Linked DNA regions of Homo sapiens: region 1 is linked to region 2. The links are contacts of gene promoters, found by promoter capture Hi-C in human tissues and cell types (Jung and others, 2019). All regions are on one chromosome and are shown on one strand. The core of a region is centred on a gene start or on the middle of the fragment in contact, and the rest is flanking DNA. Distances in the headings are between cores, read along the strand shown.

Region 1 (2,700 bases), core at 77-2,576, 220 kb before region 2:
CACACCTGGCTATTTTTTTTTTTTTTTTTTTTTTTTTTTGGTAGAGAAGAAGTCTTTCTCTATTACCCTGGCAGGTTTCAAACTCCTGGCCTCAAGCAATCCTACCTCAGCCTCCCAAAGTCCTGGGATTACAAGCATGAGCCACTGTGCCCAGCCCCTTCTACCACTTTCTAATGCAGCCCCAATTCTTGCCATCAGACACTTTGGTGAAAGTGTTTCTGCATTTTTCATTTCTGAAAAAGCACCAGACAAAACCATCCTAGATTTTAATTTTTTTATGATTGGATTTTCCATCACCAATTCCTTTTCCCAGGATGGTTGAGTTATGGGAACACCTGACACTTAGCAGAGAGGAAGTAAATGGCACTTCCTAAGTGGTTCGATCCCATCTTTGGGGTACCTGGAACCAGGCATGAGAACCATCAGACTAGTTTCATACAACTTCTCATTTAAACATTTGTTGAATAAGATAATTTATTTGACAAATATTTACTGAGCACCTACGATGTGCCAAGCACTGCTCTAGCCACTAGGATAAAGTGAATATTCTAGTGGGGCACACAGGCCACAAACTTTTTTTTAAATGAATTGATAAGATTATTTCTGAAAGTAAAGGATGCCACGAAGAAAATGAGATGAGATATTTCTTATGTGAAAGCTTTGGCTGTATAGTTTGGCCCACAGTAAATGCCCAACTTGGGCTGAATAAATCAAACTTTTCAATTCAAATGGCCATCATTTGGCATATAGAAAAGACATTGGAATTCAGAGTTAAATGGCCATGAATTGTACTCTAGCTCTCTCAGTGCCTGTGTGTCCTTGAACAAGTTACTTAACTTCTCTGTGCCTTGGGGTCCCTATCCAGAGCTGGAACTAGAGTGTGGCAAGAGGCACTTAAGGAGCAAAGTTTAAGGAGGCTGTCATGTCAGGGTCATGCAAATGAAGAGTTGACACTGATAGGACCTTGAAAGTGAGTGCTTCCTTAAATCTTGTAGCCTGGGTGCTTCTTTTGCTTTGCTCTAGCCCCAGCCCTATTAAAATAGGAGAAATAATTGCACCTACCTCCTAAGGTTGTCATGAAGTAAGGATCAACTGAGATGTGAAGAGAGAAATGAGAGAATGTCTTGCAAACTGGCAGCTCTTTGTGACTATTTGGAGAAGCAAGCTGCCAGATCAGGCTGTGCCAAGGTAGCAGGCTGGGATTCAAACCCAGCTCCTTTGTGCCATTTTTCCAGTGCTAGAGAGAAAGTGGAGAAAGTGGGAGAGCTTTCACATGCTGTGAGTTCTATTAGCACCAGATCCACACTCGCAGTTGGGCTAACCATGTGCTGAGTGCATTTTGCCATCATGGCCAGGGCAAATCTGAATGTATGTCTCTGGACACACACTCACACTCACACTGGATGCAGCCAAGACTGAAGGATTTTTGTTTTTTTAATTTCAATTTGTGTTTTAGATGCAGGAGGTACATGTGCAGATTTGTTACGTGGGAATATTGTGTGACGCTGAGGTTTGGAATACAGATCCCATCACCCTGGTAGTGAGCATAGGATCCAATAGGTAGTTTTTTTTACTCACTACCCCTTCCTCCACCCTCTAGTGGTCCACAGTATCTATTGTTTCCTTAATTATTTTCATACGTACTCAGTGTTTAGCTCCCACTTATAAGTGAAAAATATGGTATTTGGTTTTCTGTCACTGCATTGATTTGCTTAGGATAACAGCCTTTGGTTCTATCCATGTTACTGCAAAGGACATGATTTCAGTTTTTATGGCTGCATAGTATTTCATGGCACATATGTATCATATTTTCTTTATCCAATCCACCCATTGATGGGCACCTGGGTTGATTCCGTGTCTTTGCTATTGTGAATAGTGCCGTGATGAACATATCCAAAAGAAAATAAATCGTTGTACCAAAAAGAAACATGCACTCATATTTTTTTTATTGTTAATATTCTTTTGCAGGCTCACCTCCTAGCTTTAGAATCAGGATTTTAGCCTTCCTCTGAAAAGACTGGGTAAACCACACAGGGTAGACTTCCAGAAAGTCTGCCCCTGTCCCTCCCCAGCCTGGGCACTGGAATCCCCCATGAAGAGACCCTGCCATGTATGACCCAGCATGGGGTTCCTAATGGAAAATGGCCAGGCTATTAGAGCTTTGCAAATTAAGGGTCCTTTCATTTATTACTATGCTCTGCTAAGGATGAGCATTAATTTTTTTCTCAAAGCAAATTCACTGGAAACAGACAGTTTAGAATTTATGCTTGTAATGATGGCTACATGGGCCATTAAGACCACCTCTAAGTGAGCTTAATTTGTAGCAGATAAATGTATATGTCTACATATTTTTCAACATAGTTTATGGTGCATCTTGCACAGCTGCGCCCAACTGATTAAATCCTCACAAAATTTAAATAGGAAATCCATTACGTAGACAGTATTATAGCCATTCATCATGGAAGCTGTTTCAGGTTAACTCTTTCAGTGCCAGGCTGAGGGAAGTGCCAAGATTTTTTCTGGGGTGTGGGGCAGGTCAAGAATGCAGGGGCTCCCTGTTCCCTTTCCCTTTTTGTTTCTACATTCCTGGGGGTGCAGGGAGCTCTTAGTACAGGGAACTTTTGAGCACAGGGAGAATAGACTCCAGGCTCACAGAGGCAGTTGGATCCTTGCTGTCTAGTAGTGGAGGTCTTCACAGCA
Region 2 (2,976 bases), core at 299-2,798:
AGGGAAACCTGGACATCTTTGGGGACCCGGAGAGCCGGCGAGTGATTGCTGGGACACGGCTGGAGCCGGGAGAGAGTAGCACTACGCCCCCTCCCTCCCTCCTCTCTCTACCCCTCACCCTCCGGGGCTAAATGCTGCTAGCTCAAAAACCCACAGTCCGCACGGGGTGGGGATTGGGGACAAGTGGGAGAAAACGGGGGCCCCGTCCGTGGTGCTGAAGACAAGCACGCAAGCCGCATCGCAGGCTTCTGAGCCGGGGCAAGGGGTAGGGTGTACTGTCGCGGTGCTTCCTGGGGAGTCCGGGAAGGCTTCCCAAGCGGCAGCTGTCTGGGGCGCTAACAACAGCCGTTACAAGGAAGTCCCTGAAATCCAGGGAACCCTTCGGAGAGGCCCGGAAGGCAGAAGCAGAAAATTCTGTCTCTCGGGGGATGGGGCTGGATCCCAAGAGCCAGAGACAGGGAAAGCAGAGGACAGTTGAAGCCACAGAACTGAGAGGCCCCGCTATCTGTCCCTCCAAGCAGCCCGAAGTACATGCAGCCGCCACTTCTGCCTACCACCTCCGGACAGCCCGAGCACCCCTGAGGCCAGTAACCCCCCTACGGGGCCAGGGCCCGGCACGAGGCGTCGGCTGACCTGTATGGTTTGTCTGTTGTAGACTTTTACCACGTGGAAGTTAAAACTGTAGATCCCTTTGCGCGGGGCGATGAAAGTGCTGCGTTCTGAATCAAAGTTGTTCCCAATGTTCACTAGTACCTATAACGAGACGGGAACGAAGGGGAGTGGGCAGGAATCGGTCCCGGACTGTCGTCCCCGCGCCTCCGCAGAGCCCTTGGAGAGGACCGGGCATCGGTCTTCCATCCATCCCTCCTTCACCAGCCCAATCTGCACGCCGCGGGAGGAAGGAACACTCACCTGGTCGAAGTAGATGATCATGGTGCGATTACTCATCTCGGACGGCTCGTGGTTGGTGCTCCTGATGGCAGAGAAAGCCACCTTGGCGCTGCCAGAGCGCACAGAGATGCCCAGGGCAGTGCCCGTGGGGTCGGACGTGGGGTTGGAGTCGCACACCACCAGGCACTTGCCCTCCAGCACGATGGGCTCCGTCTCATTCTGCCCGCGGGCCGGGCCCGCCAGCCACGCAGCCCCCAGCAGCAGCAGCTCCAGGACGCCCAGCATCGCGCCGCCGGCGCCCACCCCGCCCCCCACCCCCAGGGCTGCTCGCGCCAGCCGCCCCCCCCGTCCCAGTCCCGCTCCGAAGCCCCCTCCTCAGCTCCGTGCGCAGCTCCGCCGCCGCCGCTCTGGACACTACACCTCTTCCTCGCACTCCGGGACTAGCGTCCCCTCCGCGACTAGCGTCCCCTCCGCGCTGTGTTCCCGGAGCCCCTCCCGGGCCTCAGGGGTGCCGCGGCTGCCCAGCCGCACTTGGATGCATAGCCGCTGCTGCTCGGTCCCGCTGCTGCCGCCGCCTCCTGCCCGCACCCGCCGCTGCCGCCGCCGCCGCCGCTCTGAATTATTGATGCAGCCGGCGCTGCAGCCGGAGCGGGCGGAGAGCGCGCGCCGGGCACAAAGGCGCGGACCTCGGCCTGGCCCCGCCCCCGCCGCCTCCCGGCCCGCCTCCCTCCGAGGCCCTGCCCCCGCCCCGGCCGAGGCCACGCCCCCCAGCCAATCCTGACGCGCCGCGCTCCCCACCGAGCCAATGGCGGCGCTGTCCGCGCTCGGCCACCTGACCCCGGGCGCCGTTGTTATTAGGCGCGGCGAGGCGGGTGGCGCGCGGCAGCAGGGTTGGGCTCTCGCCGTGAGTCGACGAAGGGAGCGCGGGCGCGCGCCCGCGTCCGCGCACTGAGAGTCGCCTCGGCCGCTCGCTTTCTCGACTCCCGCCTCGCGCCTCGATCCTGTTCCGCCTCCCTCGGCCCTCCTGCCCGCCCCCACTCGTCGGCCCTCAGGTAGGAGGCGGCGCGCCCCGGGGTCGGGAGTGGAATCGCTGGAGGCTGCGAGTCGCCTGCCCGCCTGTGGGCGCGCCCGTTGGGAGGGGAGCGCCCCCCAGCGGGCGCGGGCGCGAGGGCAGCCGGCGCGCTGGGCGAGCCTGGCTCAGGGTCCCGGCGGCCGGGGTGCAGGGCGCGTGCGCGCGCGGCGGGGCGGGGCCTGCGCGGCTCTGGCGGGCGCACGTGGTGCCCGGGAGCTGCTGGGCGGGCACTCACCGCGGGGACTCGGTGCGGAGCCGGGGCGCCGAGTGTCTCCGTGTCCCTCTGCCCCAGCCGGCGGCCGCGATGGTGGAGCTTGGCCTCTCGCTCTCTCCCGCCTCTCCAGCGACTGCTCTGCCGGCCGCGGAGGTCGGATCGAGCGGTCATTCATTCATTTGTTAATTCGTTCACTTATTCAGGGGAGATCATTGAACCCCTACGGAGTACCGGGTACTGGGCCGGGCGCTGAGGACGCGGGGCTGAGCAAAAGCAGCCGAGGCCCACCTTCGTGCCCCTTAAAACCCAGCGTGCGGGGCGGCAACGAGTACTGCTTTTCTGTTTTGCACTTAAAATTTACATTTTGCATCCGTACTTTTTATTTACTGTGCACCCTTACGGCATGCTTTACGCACCCGTACCTGCACCTCCTAGCCTTGAGTGTAGACACCAGATCCTGAGATGGGCGATTTTTCGAGAATAATTTTTACCCTAAGTGGATTTTCGTGCCACGCATGGACTTGGAACTACACACACGTAGTCCAAAACGTGAAAGTCAAAATGCAGCTTTGCCAAGTGGCAGGGAGAAAGGAGAGCTGAGAAGATGAGGAGAGGAAGGGCGCGCTCCAGGCTTTCCAGCCCGGGTGCGGTAGACGTAGCCCTGAAGGATGAACCCAGGCTGGTAGTAGGGCGGCGGGAGGGCGGGGGGACCTGTCAGTCAAGTCCAAAGCAGAAACGCGGCGCCGGATCCCAGTCAGAGGCCGGCTGGAACGCTTCCCACAGGCTCCTGGCGCTCCGG

What was found. The method cuts DNA at HindIII sites, captures the fragments that hold promoters and counts their contacts. A contact is called where the count stands out against the background at its distance.
Region 1: a fragment that was not itself captured here is called in contact with the fragment with the promoter of CBLN1 in region 2 in 2 of the 25 tissues and cell types used here (H1 embryonic stem cells and dorsolateral prefrontal cortex).

The regions. Positions count from the first base shown.
Region 1 is chr16:49,058,603-49,061,302 of GRCh38, forward strand. No RefSeq gene overlaps it. Among named protein-coding and RNA genes, the nearest start is that of CBLN1, 220 kb to the right of the region's middle. RefSeq lists an enhancer at 1,953-2,700. The HindIII fragment of the contact is 7,245 bases long and covers 1-2,700 here.
Region 2 is chr16:49,280,290-49,283,265 of GRCh38, forward strand. It overlaps CBLN1 (cerebellin 1 precursor), which reads right to left and starts at 1,549. Exons shown (of 3, transcript NM_004352.4): 1 at 913-1,549; 2 at 634-753. The coding sequence starts at 1,176. It overlaps SYNAGE (synapse stability regulating cerebellar lncRNA), which reads left to right and starts at 1,773. Exons shown (of 4, transcript XR_933530.4): 1 at 1,773-1,943. RefSeq lists an enhancer at 653-1,270 and silencers at 1,623-1,732, 2,103-2,202. The HindIII fragment of the contact is 18,550 bases long and covers 1-2,976 here.